2 separate regions of the Homo sapiens genome follow, and region 2 is linked to region 1. Evidence: promoter capture Hi-C in human tissues and cell types (Jung and others, 2019). All regions are on one chromosome and are shown on one strand. Each heading gives the region's core, a stretch centred on a gene start or on the middle of the fragment in contact. The rest is flanking DNA. Distances are from core to core; before and after follow the strand shown.

Evidence for each region. Contacts are between HindIII fragments. The study calls those that stand out against the background at their distance.
Region 2: a fragment that was not itself captured here is called in contact with the fragment with the promoter of TMEFF2 in region 1 in 1 of the 25 tissues and cell types used here (mesenchymal stem cells).

What each region holds. Positions count from the first base shown.
Region 1 is chr2:192,191,805-192,198,116 of GRCh38, forward strand. TMEFF2 (transmembrane protein with EGF like and two follistatin like domains 2) reads right to left here and starts at 3,129. Exons shown (of 10, transcript NM_016192.4): 1 at 2,549-3,129; 2 at 76-185. The coding sequence starts at 2,720. RefSeq lists an enhancer at 3,075-3,650. The HindIII fragment of the contact is 5,375 bases long and covers 2,032-6,312 here.
Region 2 is chr2:191,856,662-191,862,533 of GRCh38, forward strand. All of the region lies in intron 1 of CAVIN2-AS1 (CAVIN2 and TMEFF2 antisense RNA 1), which reads left to right. Among named protein-coding and RNA genes, the nearest start is that of CAVIN2, 13 kb to the left of the region's middle. The HindIII fragment of the contact is 3,138 bases long and covers 2,358-5,495 here.

The sequences.
Region 1 (6,312 bases), core at 1,879-4,378:
GATAGGCTGTAAAGGAAGATTCCTGCTTTGCAGTCTCATTAATGAATTAGAAGATGCAAATATAAGACTTCTTACCTTGAACTGACAGACGCAAGTCACAGTGTCTCCAATTCTTAAACATTCCCCATCAAATTTACAGGTGTTGGTGTCACAGAGGAAGAGATCATTTTCTCTGTCATCATAACCTCAAATTCAAAGAGAACACTCCAGTCATTAAAACATCTTACAGATTTTTAACAAAAAAAAGCACTACTTTGAAGCTTTAAAATACTTGTCCTAAATTTTAAATCCAACAACTATAGCTGTACTGCAAGGTCACTGTCTACTGATAACCTCAAAATCTAGTTAAGTGATCAATATTCGTTTCCATTTTCCACAATTCTTTTCTAGTCAATTCTCCTTTAGTATCCTTTTCTGATAGTGCTATTTTTTAAAGCTTGCGTTAATACTGACAGTGGTGAATGAAAGCTTAACATTTGCTTCCTGTTTTTTTTTTATTTTTATTTTTTGCTCATTAGGTGGACAATATTTATGACCACAAAACTCCACATTTTGGAAAAGAGCTAGTGATGATCTCTGAATACCCTTTTACCATTTCCCCATCTTTAATTGTTCTTTTGCTTCAACGACTGAAACAACCCCTTATTTGAAATGTATCCAGACAAAGAGGAAACAAAGCCTCAATAATAAAGATAAACAGGCACAGTGTTTTCTGTGATGGTCTGTTTGGCTCAAATGAAGATTGATCACCTCTAAGTTAACAGGGGTGGAAGCGGGGTGCCAAGTTCTTGACAACCTATCTGCAAAACCAGTTTATTCTCTTTAGTTTATGCAGTCCCCTTTAAAATATCTGGTAAATATGTAATTTCTTGATTGCAAATGTCAACTTCACATTTAAGTTAGTTATTTCCTAAAACAATGCAAGGGCTAGGAATGAAGCAAACCAGTCTGTGTTGGACTACAAAGCCATCAACATTTCCAAAAATTGTTTTTGCAGGCTCATAATTATTACCATAATAAAGCATCTAAAAAGTGATTAGGCAATAGCAAAGTGAAACTTATTCTTTCAAAAACAACACACATGTACGCATGAATCAAGAAGTTATAGAAACATGTTGAGTTTTATTAAAATGCCAAATTTAGAAACTGCCAAAAAAGAGAACAATCTATTGACCCAAATCTAATAGGGTTGCATATCTCAACTTGTCTTTGTAAAGGATAAATTAGAATGATGCATAATAATTTTCCTTTTGGCATTTACATCAGTAATAACTAGGAACTATACAGGCTTTCACCCTGAGTTACAGTTGGTCATTCCCTCCTCTCTAAAGTTACATACACTTCAGCTTATATACATCTTTGAAAGACACTTTATTCAGAGCCAGATTTAACTACAGCAAAATTATATTCACAGAAGATGAAAAATTACATACACACTTGCTAAAACTAGAACAGACCACACCTAGGGGACAATACCCAGGCATGTTAACGGAGTTTAAAATGCCAAGGAAATTACACCACAATTCTGCCCAGTATACTACAGGCTGTCAAACCGAAATGCTATGCCAGCTAGGAGTGCAGCAACTCCCATCCTCTGGCCCTATTTAATTAGGAAGCTTCAGCAGAGCGAAGCCTGCCAAGCGTTCGCCGTCAGAATCTGAAGGAACCCGAGCGAGCAAGAAGAGTGCCTGACCCACTCCACAGAAGCCTGTCCAGAAATGGAGGAGTCAGCGCCCACTGAAGTCGGTTCCGCCCTCGGCTCGCCTACATGGAGCCTGACCAGCCTCAGTCATGCCCACTCCGGCCTGGGAGACCCGCAAAGTGTTCTTTTTCTCAACTCCCCTGTACTACCTTGAAGCTTAGGGAAGCAAAGAGAGGGGCATATCTGGACTGCAAAACCAATGTCTTTTGCCGCCTAGGAGAGAAGGGAATGAGAGAGAGAGAGAGATAGATAGATAGAGAGAGAGAGAGAGAGAGAGAGAGAGAGAGAGAGAGAGAGAGAGAAATTCTATTGAAACCCAGCTCCTCTAGAATCTGTGTGACCTGGTCTTCAACGGGAGACCAGTGCGACCTCATGGCACCTTTGCCAGGAATCAGCGATTCCCCTGCAGTCACCATTTGATTTATTGCTTTCTCGCTCATTCTTTCTCATAAAGTTATTTCTTCCTCATCCTAGTAAGACTTTTTTCTTTAATGATGACAAAGCTTCTGTTTCAGTGTTTCCCCTAGGATTGGTGCTCTTTCAAAACAGTGAACCCAGAAAACCATCCCGTTTAATATTTCTCAAAATCCTCGCAGCTCCAATGTAAGCGCAAGCATGCAAAGGTTTCCTGCTACACCTGCACTTTCTGCCCATCCCAGAACCACCCCTCACCCCCGGGCCTGCAACAGTTCCCCTTGTTTCTCTGGATAGAGGTGGGTGGTATTAGGGGTCTAGGGCAGTAGGAGGTGAGGGGCTGAGGAGGCGCGCTAGGGTAGGCTGGTCTGTGCTGGATACGCGTGTTCTTCTGCGGAGTTAAAGGGTCGGGGACGGGGGTTCTGGACTTACCAGAGCAATTCCAGCCGGTGGGCGTTTGGCAGTCACTTAAGGAGGTAGGGAAAGCAGCGAGCTTCACCGGGCGGGCTACGATGAGTAGCATGACGGGCAGCAGCAGCAGCCAGCAAAAGCCCTCGCAAAGTGTCCAGCTGCTGCACTGCCGCGGGGACTCCCACAGCACCATGACTAGTTCGTGCAACTCTGCAGCAGCAAACGGCTTCCGAGGAACACAGGATCGCGGGGGCCGGGCAGCGGGCTACTGAGCATCCCGCGGACGGCGGCAGCAGAGGCGGCGGCGGTGGCAGTGGCACCCGGCGGGGAAGCAGCAGCCAAACCCGCGCATGATCTCGAGAGTTTCAGCAACATCCAGGGACTGGGCTCAGCCCCGGAGCGAGAGGGTCGTCCGCTGAGAAGCTGCGCCGGAGACGCGGGAAGCTGCTGCCATAAGGAGGGAGCTCTGGGAAGCCGGAGGACAGGAGGAGACGGGAGTCCAGGGGCAGACGAGTGGAGCCCGAGGAGGCAGGGTGGAGGGAGAGTCAAGGCGCCCCGCAGCCCGGCAGCCGCCTCTCGAGCTCTGCCGCCCGCATCCCTCTGGCGTTTGGGAAGCAGCAGGTCCTCAGCCCGCCCGGGGTCACGTGGGAAGAGGCAGTCGGGCTCTGATTGGTGGAGCAGGATGCAGGTCCCGGGAGGGAGGGGTCGACGAGGAGGTGCAAGGATGCAAGGAGGAGGCGGCCGCGGAAGCCACAGATGGGCTCGCTCGCCAGGCGCTGGCCCGAGTGGGGCTAGGCGGGGATGGCTCAAATGAGAAGCTCGGGCTTCAGGGTGGGCTACCCGCACACTCATATACCATTCGCCTCACTCTCCGCTCCAGGACGCCCCCTACCGAAGGCGGGGTCCGGACTAGCGCCCCTCTTCCGCGCGTGACCCCGGGCCGCGAGTGCGGGCCGCGGCTGGGTGGCGTCTCTCCGAGCTGGAGATGGTGGGGGCGGAGGTGTCAGAGGAGCAGCAGCAGCAGGGCAGAGAGGGGCGAGTCGGCGCGGGAGAGGGCGTCCTGCTGGCGACCGGCGCTCCAGCGTGCGGGAGCGCGCCGCCTAGGCTGTAGGGGGATGCAGGCTGGGAATGTCGCGGCGGAGAGGCCAGGGACGTTTCTCTAGGGATTTACAGGAAAGAGGGTGAGAGGCGATGGTGTTAGAACCGCTCTTGCCGACCTGGAAGCAACAGCAGCATCTCCCACAAGAGCGTGCAACCCCAAGGCTGCTCGCCGAGGCAGCTCAGCCATCCCGGCAGGCGCTCTCCTTCCTTCTCTCTTCTCCCCTCTCTCCTCCCAGGCCCCCCGCAGCTCCGACCCAGCCCAAGCGTTCGCAGGTTTGAATCCCTCTCCTCATCACCCGCTCCTCTCCAGCCCGTAGCCTATTAGTGTGTCCACCTGGGAGGTGCGGTCAGATGTGTTTGGAAGGTCAGATTGGTCGGGACAAGTGGTCTGAGAGAAAGAGAAAGGCTCCTCTGCATACGCCGCGGGTGGGTTGCCGGGAGCATCGGCCGGGCAGCGGCGTCCGGGAAGGGGAGAGCGGGCTCCATTTGTTGGCCCAGGCAGTGACCCTGCGTTCCTTACTCGGGTCTTTGCCGGATGGCCGGTGACCTGGGGCGACGAGAGAAGGTCTAACTCGGCAGGAGTCTCTGGCTCTGCGCGTTTCTTTCATTCTCTCCAGCGGGAAGGGCAAACGGCATAGCGGGACCCGCCTTCCGTCTGCTGCATTCTTCAGGCAGTTAGACACACTCTTTAGCCTAATGGAATTTTAGTCGCCAGTAACGGGACCAAGAGCTTTCGGGGACAAGGGTGGAGAGGAACATCTTTCTTCCATGACCGGGGTCACTATTGCAGTCTCAGTGTTTTGGATGCCCCATAGGGAAGAGCTTTCTTTTTGGTGTGTGATTATTCAGTGATTCCTGTTTTTGTTTTTGTTTATCTTCTCTCCGCTCTCCTTCTCTATTCCTCTCTGTTATCCCTCCTCCTTCTTCTCCCCCCGCTTTCAAAAGCCTCCGGATCCTCCCTTTTTCTATTTAAATTCTCCTTTTGTGCCCCTCTTTCTGTGTCCCCTGAATTTAGGAGAGCATTTGATAACATTTAACAGGCAATTAGTGTCCATTCCCAATCACTTAAAAGAGGCATTCATATACTTTGAAAACGGGACTATCTATCCTTTGCAGACACCAGCAGAAAAACAAATTGTACCCGAGTAATCCTTTTAAGTACTTTAACCTCCAACCTCCTCCCACTTCCTTGCTTTTTAACTTCTCCTTTGAGAGATGTGATCGTGCAGCACCTCAGTGCCTCAACGAAATCTTTTTTTTTTTCCTGTGTGAAATCCATCCCTTTATCTTACATCTCCGCCTCCGTCCGAGACTGTCCCTCTCCCCTCCCACCTCCAAAGATTTCTGAATCTCAGTGTCTCTCACTCCTGGCAATTAAGCAGCAGATCCCAGCATTCTAGTCGGTGGCATCTCGCTCCTCACCGACGAAGACTCCATTAAAACAGATCAATTAGACCAGACGTTGGAGGCATCAGAAAATCGGCTTCTAGACAGAGCAGCTAAATTCTTTAAGGAAACAGAATACCCATTAGATAGAGCTGCCAACTAATATTGCAAAACAAGGAATTAGAAATTTCTTTCGCTACAGGCTTTCAGCAGAGAAGGCAACATAAATATAGATCAAGATTTAACAACTCTACAGCAGAGAATGAGAACATGTCATTTTCCATAGCAAGGCTGGTGTGGTAACTAATCAGGCTTATGAAAATAAGTCATGCTTGAAACTAAAGGCAAAGTCCTTAAAAGTGTTTATGCAGTAATTATGATAATGAAACAGGACCTGCTAGGATTTCAGAGTTTGGCTATGTAAGTAGAATTTTAGAGAACCTCTTAGCAGAGGAAAACTGTTTTTGAATTTTCTGCTAAGTAAATTTTTGGCATACTTTCTAATAATATATGCTCTTCCTAAGACGTTTTGCCAAAAGTAAGTTAAAACTCCAAAGGAGTTAATTACTGGTTGTAACTGGTTAACAAATGCGGTTGCTTCCACAGAGGTCCTTTAAATTATTAAACAGTTTGAAGCAAAGCCTTTTCAATGGGAATGCTGCAATTTTGTTGCACTTACTCTGTACTTAGTGTTATAGTGCCACCAAGAAACAAATTCTGAAACTGGCAAGCACCACCAAGTGGCAGAAGAACATCACTCATTGAGCAGAGAATTGTATTACTGAATATGTAAATAAAAATATATACATTATTTAGACTTGTCACTAGGTACCAAAGAAGTAGACAAGACTGCATTAGCAATTGGATTAGTGCTTTAACTTTTCCCCAGCAAGGCAAAATCAGTTTACTTATTAGAATTAAATTTAAGTCTATGAACTGTACTTTGCATTGCGTATCATATGATTGCTAGTAATATGACACAATCATACCATGTATTTGCAAAATTCTTATTTTAAAATACTATACCATATTTACTTTCAATCTTCTTGAGCTAGAACACTTTATTTGTGGCATATACACTCTAGAATTGATGCAGAGGAGCAGAGTCCAGTTGTTAGATTTTTCAGTAGAAATAGTGCAGATATATTTTCTCCAGAAAACTTAAGAACATTTTTTTTTCTCATGGAAAGAACATCATTATAAAGTGTGAGATTACTCACAGCTTAAGTAGGGGGCTTGGGAGTTATTCTCCAACAAGAATAGTTTAAGATAAATAAATGAACCTGGGAAAATAAGAT
Region 2 (5,872 bases), core at 2,677-5,176, 330 kb before region 1:
TAATGGCAGGAACTGTTGTGAGCTGATCTTTGACTCTGCCTCCCAGAGTCACATGGTCTAAAATACCCAAATCTCCAGTATGTAGGTCCAGAAATGTAATCTTATCCGCTCATTCTTAGATAATATTTGGGGAAAATTAACTCACTCTACTGAAACTCACAGGAGAGAAATATATGAATCCAAGTATCTGTGTATTAATTAATAAAAAGAGAGCTAATTGGTATAACAAAGCACAGTGGCCATTTTGGAAGCCTAGTAAATGCTAAGATGGCATAAAAGAAGATTGATATTCCCGAGAAATGTTTTATTGAGTTGTGGGTAACTATATGTACTGATCTTTCATATTTTGGGTACATTATGCCTTGCCATGGGGGGTTTCATGAATCTGTAGAGAAATGAAAAAAATAAGGGCAATACAGTGGACTTACCATAAAACTAAATGTATTTAATTTAGAAGAATGTGCTTTATTTTTGATTATGTCATTGTTATTACTGATGTCAAAATGTTGATTTTAAGACATTATAGTACAATTTTTTTTAAATTACTTTTAACTTTACAGAATAAGAATACTGGCGACCCTATCAGGTCCCAATTTTTCCTTTTTTGGAGTGTGATTTGATTTATGGTTTCATGAAATCCCAAAGTCTGAGAACCCCTGGCTTAGAAAACTTCAATAAGATTTGTCTACCAATGGTTTTCATTTATTCATCCACAGAGTGAAATGCATTATCATATCAAAAAGTACATGCACACTCAGACATACATGAATATGTAAATATTTATAATAGAAACAGAAGTTTCACAAAACAATACTTAATCTTACCTCATTCAGTGTACTCTGATCTATTTCATTTTACTTGTTAAAAATGTCAGTTGCTATCCAATAATTTGATTTCATGACCTACTAATGAGTCACAACCCACAATTTGAAAAACACTGTTGTAGACCCAGAGTCCTCTCTTCCCAGGACGTAGCTGAATAAACACTGACAGGTGTTTCCTTTTTGGATCTCCTTTTCTAGATTCCACACAGACCATATCCCTTCTGGTGCACATTTGTTGCCCTGGATAGGTTACAATACAATTGATTAAATACAAACTTTCTATATGTTAGCTGTAATTCCGCCCTTAGGATACACCCTTGTCACCTTATTTAGTTTGAGAAATATTCTCTACTTTGTTTGGATTTAGAAGTCACTTTGGTCTTATTTTTACAAAACAAGGAAGTCCCCTGGTCTTATTAGCCCCACTTTTACAAAATACTTATTACAATAGGTTATAATGTAGACAAGCAATTTGCACTCATTTTAATTAATTTTTTTTAGCCTCAATTGCAGAGCATAACATTTTAGTTACTAATCAAATTTGAGATTTGGGTAGGGACGGGAGAGAACATCTTACTCCAGCCCTGGCCACTGGCCAAGCAATGGAAGATAACTAGACAGTCCAGAGGAAAAGAAAAAAGGCAACTAAAATGAATTACATTAATGATGACGTTAAAATGTCCAAATGTACGTTACATAGTTTAGCTATGTAAACTTGACACCAGAGTAATGAGGAACAGAATATATGCTATGTATGTTTTGGAGTAAGTATTATTTTATTTTGGATCATAGGTTTGATACCAGTGCAGCAGTGTCATGTGCTGGTTGAGTGTGGGCTGTGGTGCCAGACTGTCTGGGAAAAGGTCCATGTATTGAGGCCCCATTTTAGGATAAAGGGACTAAGCCTTACAAGGGTTAAGTGACCTTGTGCAAGTCTCTTAACCTCTCTGAGATTTAGCTATAAAATGAGTTATAAAATGAGAAACATTAAGAGTACCTACTTCATGGGGTTGGTCTGAGGGTTAAATTAGTTCTACATGTAATGTGCTTGGTCTAATGCCTTTCGTGTGGTTAAAAACTCAGTGCATTTTAGTCGTCATTGCAATCATCTTACAGCTAGTGGTTCACAGGCTGGGATTTAGAGTCAGTTACCTAGATTCGAGTTCCAGCTTATTATTCTAGTTGTATAATATTGAGAAAATTACTTAATCTTTTGAAGCCTCACTTTTCTTATTAAATAAAACTGTGCTAATAATAATACCTATTGTGGTGTTAATGTTTTGTGGATTTGATGACACCACAGAGTGCCTATTACATACAGCTCAATAAATACTAGTCAGCTAGCCAAAATTACCTATGCTACCTCATTTTGCATGTATTCACTTCATATAGTCTTTCTGCTGTATATTTCATCATTCAGATCTTGACTTATACATCAGAGGTCTTGGATAGAGTACAATTTAATTGCTGTTTATCTTTATGTCCTCCTAACAGGAGACAACATTCTACCCTAAAAGAATCAAACAAACATGAAACTTTAAATAAAGTTGCAGCATTCATTTCAATTCAATAACTGTCTTTTTGAATTTCCATTATGTGCTAAGTGTGAGTCCTATAAGACACATTTCCACCTGGCAAAGGTTGAAGAAAAGCCAAATTTAAAAGGCTACTATAATTAGAACTTTCGCTAACGGCAGTTAAACCGATTAATGTCCAATGGGACCCACTCTACTGAAACATATTTTTTAGGCAGTTATACATTTATATTAAATTAAACATTCAGTGAATAAATGAGCTTATGTATCAGTGTCTCCATGTGGTTCTTGGAGTTAATTTTGTAATGATATAGCCAGTGCCGCTGAGGGCATCTCCCTTGCTGTTTTCTCTGCCTGGAGTTCTTCCTATTCATTCTCATATGGCTGGCTTTTTTCCCTCTCATTATTCAGCTAGTCTTCCCTGACCATCCTACCTTATAGGGGTGCCATCCTCAGTCTTTCTCTCCCTGAGCACCCTGTTGCATACTCTTCACATACCACTGTGTAATTGAAATAATACTGTTTGTGAGCTGCTCTTTGCCTGTGTCACTCACTAGATCTAAAGCTCCAGGAAGGCAGGGACTTTGTCTATATTTTTCATGGTTTGTATTATGTTTCTATTATTTGTAACAAATTACCATAAACTTAGCAGTTTAAAACAACGCACAGTTATTGTCTCACAGTTTCTGTGAGTCAGGAGTCCAGGGTTAGATTTGCTGGGTTTCACTAGGGTTAGCTCAAAATTTCACCAGGCAGATATCAAGGTATTGGCTAGGCTGCAGTCTCATCTAAGACTTGGAGTCCTCTTTTGAGGTCATTCAGGATGTTGGCACATTTCAACTTCTTGTGGCTGTAGAACTAACATCCTTTTTTTCTTGCTGGCTGTAAACCAGGGTGAGGGGGAGTGCTCTCAGTTCCTGGAGACTACCCAAGGGTCTAGACATGAGACATTCTTACAACATGGCAGTTTATTTCTTCAAGGCCAGCAGGAGAGTCTCCTATCTCTAGACCCTCTTTTAGGGGTTTGCCTAATTAGGCCAAACACACCCAGGATAATCTCCTTGTCATTAACTCAGAGTCAACTGATTAGAGACCTTAATTACATCTGCAAAATATCTTCACCTTTGCTACTTAATGTAACGTAATCAGAGGAGTGATATCTCATCATATTCACAGGTGTCACCATACTCGAGGGGTGAGGATTATACAGGGCAGGTAGACCAGCGGTGGGGATCCTGGAGGCCACCTTATAATTCTGCCTACCCACTGTTGTAGCCCATTTAAATGACAGTAGGTATTTAAACACATATTTGTGCATGAATGAGTGAATGAATGAGTAAATGTCAATTAAATAAATAAGAACGGAGGAATCAGTGAGAAATGTAAATAAACTGTTGGTTGTGTTCAGATATATGTTTAGCATCCTATATTGAGTTCAAAACAATCTTGTGATTGGATTGTCCACTTAATTCACTTTTCTTACTGAGGGACTTGTGACTATTACACCGTGTAAAGAGGAATCAAGTAGTATTTTTTGTATTATATTAGCAAAGTTTCTGTAGTATAGTCTTGATTAATATTTCTAACCAAAGGTCTTATGCAGATGAAGTTGTTAAACCTGAGGATACTAGAATGGCTTGCACATGAAAGCCCGGTTTATCATTAGCAAATCAGGATTAATTGATATTAGAACTTGGACTTCTGCTGTCTGTCATTGGAAATTTAATATTCCACTGTTTCCTCAAAACCAGAGAGAAGGAAGGCATTTTAATTTCTAGGAGAAATAATACAAAATTAGGTTCAGAAAAATGTTTTCCTGACTGTAGCTAAGATACTACTTTGTGGAATGACCCTGTAAAGGAAATGTAGGCACTCCTATTATTTGAGATATAGGAAACTACAGGGATGGGGCAGGCATAGGATAGTGTATTAGGCTACTCTAGCTGCCATAACAAAATACTACATGCTGGGTGGCTTAAAAACAGATATTTATTTTCTCACAGTTCTGGAGGCTAGAAGTCCATGATCAAGGTGCCAGCAAATCCTGTTTCCAGGGAAGGTCTCTTCCTGACTTTTAGATGGCCTCCTTCTCACTCTGTCCTCTTGCAGCCTTTCCTTGGTGCACACACAGGGAGAAAGCTATGCTCTTTCTTCCTTTTCTCATAAGGACATCAATCCTCTTAGAATAGGACTCCACTTAAGGTTAAATGATTAGGACCTTGTTCAGCCTTATTATCCTTGTAGGCCCAATCTCCAAATACAGTCACCTTGGGGGTTAAGGCTTCAACATGTGAAGTTAGAGAGGACATAGTTCAGTCCACAATAGATAGCTTAGAGAGCTATGAGGAACAAAGGAATCTTTGAAAGGGAGCAGGTTCAGTAGGGGGAGTAGGATTTCAGGCTTTCGCATTGGATCACTTGCATTTGAATTCCAGCTTCATCTCTTGCTTGCATTAGGGGCAAATCCAATTCTTATGGGGCCTAGGACTTAGACAATTTTAGAAACCCTCTTTAAGATAGAGAATATAAAGTTAGGTACAGAGTCTTGGAAGGGGGCTTATGCAAATAAGGGCCTCAGAAGCTTAAACTTTATTAATTTCTCAGTAAGTTCACCTCTGTTTGCCATTGAGCTAAGGAAATTACTATATCTGAGCCTGTTTTCTCAATGATACAATGGAGACAATTATTTTAAATCACAGGGATGTTGAAAGGATTAAATGATCACTACCAAGCTCTCCCACCTGTCTATTATTATTGCTACCTTTATTATTATTGTCACCATCATTATTATTCAGCCCTTTCATTTTACAGATGATAAAACAGGCAAAAAACTATTATATGACTTGCCTTACATCATACAACCAGTGAGCTGGGAGGTTGGGCCAGAGTCACCCCTCCTGCCTCCTGGTCTACACTCTTTCCATGGCTCCACAGAGACAGCTTTTTGTACCCCTTTCCCGGTGTTCACATCCCTGAAGAGGATGTTGGAATAGTATCATAATCTTCACCTATAATATTTACTCTATAGCTACTAAAAAATGAAAGAGGTCTAAAAAGCAGAGTTAATTTGGTTGAATTTAAGCTTCTTTTTTATTTTTATATACATTGAATGGGGATAAGGTCAATGAAATATAAAGCCATAATCATTAAATACACATTCTCATCATTTGTGGAAATTTCCAATTGGAAAGCTTAGCTTCCATCTTCATTTGGAGGAAATGATGACTTGGAAACAAAGATGTTTCTATGTTATCTCATTGCGAGTGATTCCCAAGGTCCCATTTGTGAATTCTGTTAGGGACATTAGAAGACTTTCCTGGGAAAGGTCTGAGGAGTCAGTCCCAGGGGCTCTAGTCGGCCCCTTGGAAATATGCACCAGATGACAGAACTTGGCTCTTCGTTTCTCTCGTGGCTCCAAGTACATGAAAATTTTTTCATGTTATCTTGGCTCTGGGAAAACCTGTGTCTCAGAGCTGGTTTTTAACACTTTTAAAGTACAGTTAATGTTGATTC